3 separate regions of the Homo sapiens genome follow, and all the other regions are linked to region 1. Evidence: promoter capture Hi-C in human tissues and cell types (Jung and others, 2019). All regions are on one chromosome and are shown on one strand. Each heading gives the region's core, a stretch centred on a gene start or on the middle of the fragment in contact. The rest is flanking DNA. Distances are from core to core; before and after follow the strand shown. Region 1 holds the start of AADAC (arylacetamide deacetylase). Region 2 has its middle 14 kb from the start of IGSF10. Region 3 has its middle 20 kb from the start of LINC02066.

The links. Contacts are between HindIII fragments. The study calls those that stand out against the background at their distance.
Region 2: a contact is called between a fragment that was not itself captured here and the fragment with the promoter of AADAC in region 1, in 1 of the 25 tissues and cell types used here (H1 embryonic stem cells).
Region 3: a fragment that was not itself captured here is called in contact with the fragment with the promoter of AADAC in region 1 in 1 of the 25 tissues and cell types used here (stomach).

What each region holds. Positions count from the first base shown.
Region 1 is chr3:151,812,785-151,815,433 of GRCh38, reverse strand. It overlaps AADAC (arylacetamide deacetylase), which reads right to left and starts at 1,318. Exons shown (of 5, transcript NM_001086.3): 1 at 1,134-1,318. The coding sequence starts at 1,271. The region is part of intron 1 of AADACL2-AS1 (AADACL2 antisense RNA 1); the gene reads left to right. The HindIII fragment of the contact is 13,838 bases long and covers 129-2,649 here.
Region 2 is chr3:151,474,057-151,476,705 of GRCh38, reverse strand. It overlaps a transcript of IGSF10 not described here and the pseudogene MRPL42P6. Among named protein-coding and RNA genes, the nearest start is that of IGSF10, 14 kb to the right of the region's middle. The HindIII fragment of the contact is 3,256 bases long and covers 1-2,649 here.
Region 3 is chr3:151,530,973-151,533,621 of GRCh38, reverse strand. It overlaps a transcript of IGSF10 not described here. Among named protein-coding and RNA genes, the nearest start is that of LINC02066, 20 kb to the left of the region's middle. The HindIII fragment of the contact is 4,462 bases long and covers 1-2,649 here.

The DNA of each region.
Region 1 (2,649 bases), core at 69-2,568:
CTAACCTCTCCAAACTAATTGCAACAATTTCCCCATTAAACCCAAATGTTTCATATGATTTCTTGGACTTGTCAATATTCTGTAGCTGGGGTGTTTTTACTTGTTGGTGTCTCTGCTGGAAAACATTTTTCTTAGCACTTAGAATGGTTGGTTTCTTTTCATTCTTCTGGTCCCTAAGTAGCTGTTTCCTCTTCAGAATGGCTTTTTCTCACCATGCATACAGTAGCCCACTCTTGCCTTCTGCCCAAATTACTCTCTTTTCTTCCATCTTACCTCCTTAAAGGTACTTCTCATGAACTAAAATCATTTATTCATTTAATTCTAATTTATTTTTTTCTCCACCACTAGAATGTCAACTGTGTGGGGATAGACTACTTGTTTGCCTAATAGGATTTGAGACAGTTGAATTGTTGAATAAATGCAAAATAAAAGATTAATCCAGGAGTTACAACATTTATCTGGTTTAAGTTCTGAAAAGAGATTTGTTTTAATGAAGATAATAAAATAACCAAAGAAGTAATAGTAAAATATCATCAAGGATCCAGAGAGAGCTACACCTTTTTAATTTGCCAGCATCCAAGCTGCCCAGTTGCCAGGACACCCAGGTCTCCCTCCCCCTCTCATTTGTGCATATTGTGCCGTCTCGTGGTTAACCCTAGGCATGTGCCAACCAGCCTGCCCATTGAATCTTTTCTTGAGAACTTATTTACGTGTCCTTAGTCTATATTCTGAATCCCAAAGATAAGTGCATAAAAATCTGTAACTAACACAGTGCTGCATAATCAGATGATCTCTAATTTGAGTATAAAATTTAAGGAACAAACCATACCTAAGATAAGAATTTCAAAGGAGAGCCACTATCGTGATATTAAAGCTACCTAAACAAAGTACTTTTTAGCAAAACCTATTCAAATGACTCCTTGCTTGCTGTTCTTGATATTTTTTTAACATGATTCCAATACATAAGACAGAAAACAAACAACATTTCTAAGTAACACATTGTCAAAGGCCACAGCAGTTATTTTAAAAGATGAATAAGTCAATAAATCAAAAGAATAGAATCTTGAAAAACTTAATTCTCTGGGTCAAATGGTGGTGTATGCACATCTGAATTCATAAAATTCCAAACTTACCAAATTTTGTATAGTTTTCAGATGTGCGTTTATCCACATCATTCTCCATGGCTCCTCAACGTTATCTGGGAGAGGCGTATAAATATAATATGCTATGAGGATCCCCACAATCAGAAGGTACAGCGATTTTCTTCCCATGGTGAACGTCCCGCTTCTTGGTCTCTAGAAACACAGAAAGTAAACCTACATGATATGCCTGAATAGTGTACTTTAATAAGCAGTGTGCTTCAGCTCCACCCAAAAGCTTTGAAAACAGAGTTGCTCACTTAGTTTAAGGGTTGGCATAATAAGGCCAAAATTTTATCTGTTATCCAGATACAGTCATGTTAAGTGCAACTTCAAGGTTTAATGAGTAATAGGAAACTAGGGCAAAGTTTGTCAATGATCATGCTGTTATCTGTATTCCAATAAACAGCATGTATTGAGTAATAACTCGGGAACAAATTCTTTAACTCTAACAAAATTATCCATAGAAAACATACAGAATTCAGAATCTTTGTTTTAAAATAGCTTATCATGGAAAAAACAAATTATATATATACACACACACATATATATACATATATATGTGTGTGTGTATATATATATATTTTTTGATACAGAATCTTCCTCTGTCACCCAGGCTGAGTCCATAAGAAGCGTTTTGTGTCAATAAGTAGTTTGTTTGAGGGTGTGTTAGGCAGTGGGATTTCCATGCATTGGGAAGTGGGGACGGGGTTTAGGCAAGTGTTCCACCCTGCGATTTCTATGCAGGGCCTGTGTCAGTTATTGCAGAATCCTGATGTTTCTCCCGTGACTTGGGTCTGACGGGGGTTGGAGATTTTGAGAGTTTGTGTGGGGTTTTTTTCTGTTATTGTTTGGATGCCTGTCGGGGGAGTGAGTGTTAGGGTACAGTTGCATAAGCTAGAGGAGAGGGTGCCTAGGGGCACTCCTTTGGAAAGTTCACGCTTTATGCATAGGGATGCTGGTTGACTGAGTTCTGAGTCTGGGGTAAGTGTTCCTAAGATAACCTTGTGTTCTGCAGTATGTGTGGTAAGATTGAGTTTGTAACTTTTGAGTGCATTTACTTCTCCAAAACTTTGGTAGCGGGGGTGGAGGGTCATATTGCTGAGAACCCAGTCTTTGAGGGGAGCTGGGAAGACATCTTTTGATACGGTTTCTGAGGGGTGTACCAGCAGGCCTTGGCCAGGGAGGGGTTAGTTTGACTGAGTATCATATGTGCCTGTGGAATGGTGCGCTGTAGGTGGAGCGGTAGCGAGAAGGAGGAGGGAAGAAGGAGTAAATAGACAGAGAGCAAGTGTAAAGGTAAAGAATTCGGCTTCATCTGGAGTGAATTCCTGTAAATCCCCTTGAAATATAAGATTGGTGATCCAATCAAGGAATGCTGTGAGGGTGGGATGTTCTGGGTAGGACCATGAAAGGTTTTCTGTGATGCAGTGAAGGAAGAGTGTGAAATGCCAGGATGGGCAAAGACAGGACATTTAGGAGGGGCCACTATCTGTTGGTGGTGGCTATT
Region 2 (2,649 bases), core at 90-2,589, 340 kb after region 1:
ACAAGATGACAGGCCTGTGGTGAGTGTAAGATTCTCCCTGGGGGCCTGAAAGCTTAAGGAGATGAATTAACTCCTCCCTTCTCAGGCCCAGTCCCAAGGCGCAAGGCCACTTGGTGTCAGCAGTGTGTGTCAGCAAGATAGCAGAAGCAGGAAGAGAGCTGGCCGGAAGATACCTCCTCTGGCCGGAAGATACCCCTGAAGATCGAGAAAGAGGCCATCCGGGTACAATGTAGCAGTTACGTCAGACTAGGATGCTTCCTGTTTATAGGAGACTATAAAACTTTTGCCCCATCCTCATTTGGGGCAGAGGCCTATTAGGCCTCAGCCCACCTACACCCAGGCGCTCATTAAAACAGCATGTTTCTCCACACCTATTCGTGTTGTCTGTTGGCACACTCTCAGGGTTCAAACCGATACAAGAACCTTACAGTGAGGAATCGTCAAGGGATGAAAATTGGTATGTCTTAGAGGCAGTTTAAAAGCAGTTTCCTTCAAAACATATTTTTATACCACTTTATAAGTATCTCAATACATCATAGCAGTAGCAGCAGTAAAATAGGTGATATCACAGAGAATTATTTTGAAACATTTCCAATCCAAATGTTTGGACTGGAACTGTCCAAATCCAAAGATACACTATGACAGACATAGTGTATCTGTCATAAATGTAAGTAGTCTTCTCCACCAGATGACTATAATTGCAAAGTCGAGTTTGATGTGATGTCTGATGGCACCCTTCTATGGACATTCCATATGAACATACAAAACATATCTCTTGACTAGATCCTGTGCATAATAATGAAGAAACACATGATCTAGGGCTGAAAACCAGATTAGAAGAAAAAGCTGAACACCTTGAGCAAGGACTCATGACAATTTAGCAAAATGTTCTTTACTACTAAGCACTGTTAAAAGAAAACGTCAGACAAAGTAAATTTAACGAAGTTTAATTGAGCAAGAAAAAAAAAGATTTATGAATCAAGCAGCCCCCAAAATCACAGCAGATTCAGAGAGATTCCAGGGATTCCTCATGGTCAGAACAAACTTACAGACAAAAAAAGGACATGCAGAAATCAGAAGTGAGGTACAGAAACAGCTGGACTGGTTACAAGTTGGCATTTGCCTTACTTGAACACAGTTTGAACACTCAGCAGTGTATGAGTGGTTGAAGTATAACTGCTAGGATAGGCCAAATGTTACAGGCATATACTCCTAAGTTAGGTTTTCAATCTTGTTTACCTATTAAGTTAGGTTATGGTTCATCCCCAAGGACTCTAATATAGAAGCATGAAATCCTTCTCAGGCCATATTTAATTTGCATTAACATTTCCCCCCTTTTGGTTAACCTCTCAATTTAGAGAGATTGACCAAAACTTTAGGCATTGACACCAGTCTCTCTCACAATCGAAAAGACTTATTTGGTCTGTGTGTTTACAAGTCCTCTTTAGTTTTAGTAAGGAGCTTCACATGTCTTCTTGGGTGTCAATATGAAATTCACAAGTCACATCTTTTTTCCAGCTGAATGAATCTTTATGTTCTTGCTGACCCATTTGGAGTGAGACTATTAACTCTCAATGGATGGCTATATACAAAACATTTAAGACTTAAGAGGATACAGTACACCAGGGGGGCTATTACTGTGACTATCAAGAGAATAATATCAAAATGCCTAAGACATGCTCCTTAATAAGAGTTCTGATATGGTTTGGCTGTGTCCCCACCTAAATCTCATCTTGAAATCCCACATATTGTGGGAGGGACCCAGTGGGAGGTAATTGAATCATGGGGGAAAGTCTTTCCCATGTTGTTCTCATGATAGTGAATAAGTCTCACAAGATCTGGTGGTTTTGGAAAGAGGAGTTCCCCTGCACAAGCTCTCTCTTTGCCTGCTGCCATCCACATAATATGTGACTTGCTCCTTCTTGCCTTCTGCCATGATTGTGAGGCTTCCCCAGCCATGTAGAACTGTAAGTCCAATTAAACCTCTTTCTTCTGTAAATTGCCCAGTCTTGGGTATGTCTTTATCAGCAGTGTGAAAATGGACTAATATGAACTGAACCAAATTAACCAAGTTAAGGTTTATACAATATAGGCAGTTCAACAATATTAGGGTCTAATTGGTCCTAGTCCTCATTTGGAGTGTGAGAGCGACTAAGGACCATAGTTCGCTGGAAAGTAGCCTAATTTAAAGAGGTACTCATTTTCCTTGTTACCCTGGTGTAATACAAATCATAATAACTTGGAAACTTATTGGAAGAAATATAAAGATTAGAAACCCTTGGAAAACCCAAGCGTATCATCCACCACTTAGGATTATGTGCAAACCAACTGTCAGTTGCTCCTGTAAACACATCATGGGTTCCTTTCTCTTGAGAGATTTCTTTAAGGTATTTGGTAGTAGTGTCTAAGGAAACAGCAGTATCACCCACCTTTTAAATTAAGCTTTCTGTAGTAACGAAATCAGGGGTGAGATAAGTACAACATTCAGTTCTGTTTAACACCAAACGTATGCCTTCAGCTTGAGCAAAATATCTAAAGCTGCATGATGTTCCATTAAGTGCTTGTTTTGAATGTGTATGTTGTCATCTACTTTTCAGAGAGTAGCTTTTACCCATCTGAAACTCTAGGAGGTCTAATTGGCTACAAAAT
Region 3 (2,649 bases), core at 86-2,585, 280 kb after region 1:
TCCAGTTTCAGCTTTCTGCGTATGGCTAGACAGTTTTCCCAACACCATTTATGAAATAGGGAATCCTTTCCCCATTGCTTGTTTTTATCAGGTTTGTCAAAGATCAGATGGTTGTAGATGTGTGGCGTTATTTCTGAGGCCTCTGTTGTGTTCCATTGGTCTATATATCTGTTTTGGTACCAGTACCATGCTGTTTTGGTTACTGTAGCCTTGTAGCATAGTTTGAAGTCAGAGTGATGCCTCCAGCTTTCTTTTAGCTTAGATTGTCTTGGCTATGTGGGCTCTTTTTTTGGTTCCATATGAAATTTAAAGTAGTTTTTTCCAATTCTGTGAAGAAACTCAGTGGTAGCTTGATGGGGATAGCACTGAATCTATAAATTACTTTGGCCTGTATGGCCATTTTCACGATTTTGATTCTTCCTATCCATGAGCATGGAATGTTTTCCCATTTGTTTGTGTTCTCTCTTATTTCCTTGAGCAGTGGTTGGCAGTTCTTGAAGAGGTCCTTCACATCCCTTGTAAGTTTTATTCCTAGGTATTTTATTCTCTTAGTAGCAGTTGTGAATGGGAGTTCATTTATGATTTGGCTCTGTTTGTCTGCTATTGGTGTATAGGAATGCTTATGATTTTTGCACATTGATTTTTGTATCCTGAGACTTTTCTTATCAGCTTAAGGAGATTTTGGACTGAGATGATGGGGTTTTCTAAATATACAATCATGTCATCTGCAAATAGAGACAATTTGACTTCCTCTTTTCCTAATTGAATACCCTTTATTTCTTCCTCTTGCCAATTGCCCTGACCAGAACTTTCAATACTATGTTGAATAGGAGTGTGAGAGAGGGCATCCTTGCCTTGTGCCGGTTTTCAAAGGGAATGCTTCCAGTTTTTGCCCATTCAGTATGATATTGGCTGTTGGTTTGTCATAAATAGCTCTTATTTTGAGATACATTCCATCAATGCCTAGTTTACTGAGAGTTTTTAGCATGAAGCGCTGTTGAGTGTTGTCGAAGGCCTTTTCTGCATCTATTGAGATAATCATGTGGTTTTTATCATTGGTTCTGCTTATGCGATGGATTATGTTTATTAATTTGGGTATGTTGAACTAGCCTTGCATCCCAGGGGTGAAGCTGACTTAATCTTGGTGGATAAGCTTTTTGATGTACTGCTGGATTCGGTTTGCCAGTATTTTATTGAGGATTTTTACATCAATCTTCATCAGGGATACTGGCCTGAAATTTTCTTTTTTTGTTGTGTGTCTGCCAGGTTTTGGTATCAGGATGATGCTGGCCTCATAAAATGAATTAGGATTCCCTCCTTTTCTATGGTTAGGAACAATTTCAGAAGGAATGGTACCAGCTCCTCTTGGTTACTCTGGTAGAATTCGGCTGTGAATCCGTCTGGCCTTGGACTTTTTTGTGGTGTTTGTAGGCTATTAATTACTGCCTCAATTTCAGAACTTGTTATTGGTCTGTTCCAGGATTTGACTTCTTCCTGGTTTAGTCTTGGGAGGGTGTATGTGTCCAGGAATTTGTTCTTTTCTTCTAGATTTTCTGGTTTCTTTGCATAGAGGTGTTTATAGTATTCTTTGATGGTAGTTTGTATTTCTGTGGGATCAGTGGTGATATCCCCTTTATCATTTTTTATTGCATTTATTTGATTCTTCTCTCTTGTCTTCATTAGTCTTGCTAGCGGTCTATTTTGTTGATCTTTTAAAAAAAACCAGCTCCTGGGTTCATTGATATTTTGAAGGGTTTTTCAGGTCTCTATCTCCTTCAGTTCTGCTCTGATCTTAGTTATTTCTTGTCTTCTGCTAGCTTTTGAATTTGTTTGGTCTTGCTTGTCTAGTTCTTTTCATTGTGATGTTAGGGTGTCAATTTTAGAACTTTCCTGCTTTCTCTTGTGGACATTTAGTGCCATAAATTTCTCTCTACACGCTGCTTTAGATGTGTCCCAGAGTTTCTGGTATGTTGTGTCTTTGTTCTCATTGGTTTCAAAAAACTTACTTATTTCTGTCTTCATTTCATTATTTACCAGTAGTCATTCAGGAACAGGTTGTTCAGTTCCCATGTAGTTGTGCCATTTTGAGTGAGTTTCTTAATCCTGAGTTCTAATTTGATCACACTGTGGTCTGAGAGACTGTTTGTTATGATTTCCATTTTTTTCATTTGCTGAGGAGTGTTTTACTTCCAATTATGTGTTCAGTTTTAGAATAAGGGTGATGTGGTGCTGAGAAGAATGTATGTTCTGTTCATTTTGGGTGGAGAGTTCTGTAGATGTCTATTAGGTCTGCTTGGTCCAGAGGTGAGTTCAAGTCCTGGATATCCTTGTTAACTTTCTGTCTCATTGATCTAATATTGACAGTGGGGTGTTAAAGTCTCCCACTGTTATTGTGTGGGAGTCTAAGTCTCTTTTTAGGTCTCTCAGAACTTGCTTTATGAATCTGGGTGCTCCTGTATTTGATGCATATATATTTAGGATAGTTAGTTCTTCTTGCTGGATTGATCCCTTTACCATTATGTAATGCCCTTCTTTGTCTCTTTCAATTTTTATTGTTTTAAAGTCTGTTTTATCAGATACTAGGATTGCAACCCCTGCCTTTTTTTGCTTCCCATTTGCTTGGTAAATATTCTTCCATTTCTTTATTTT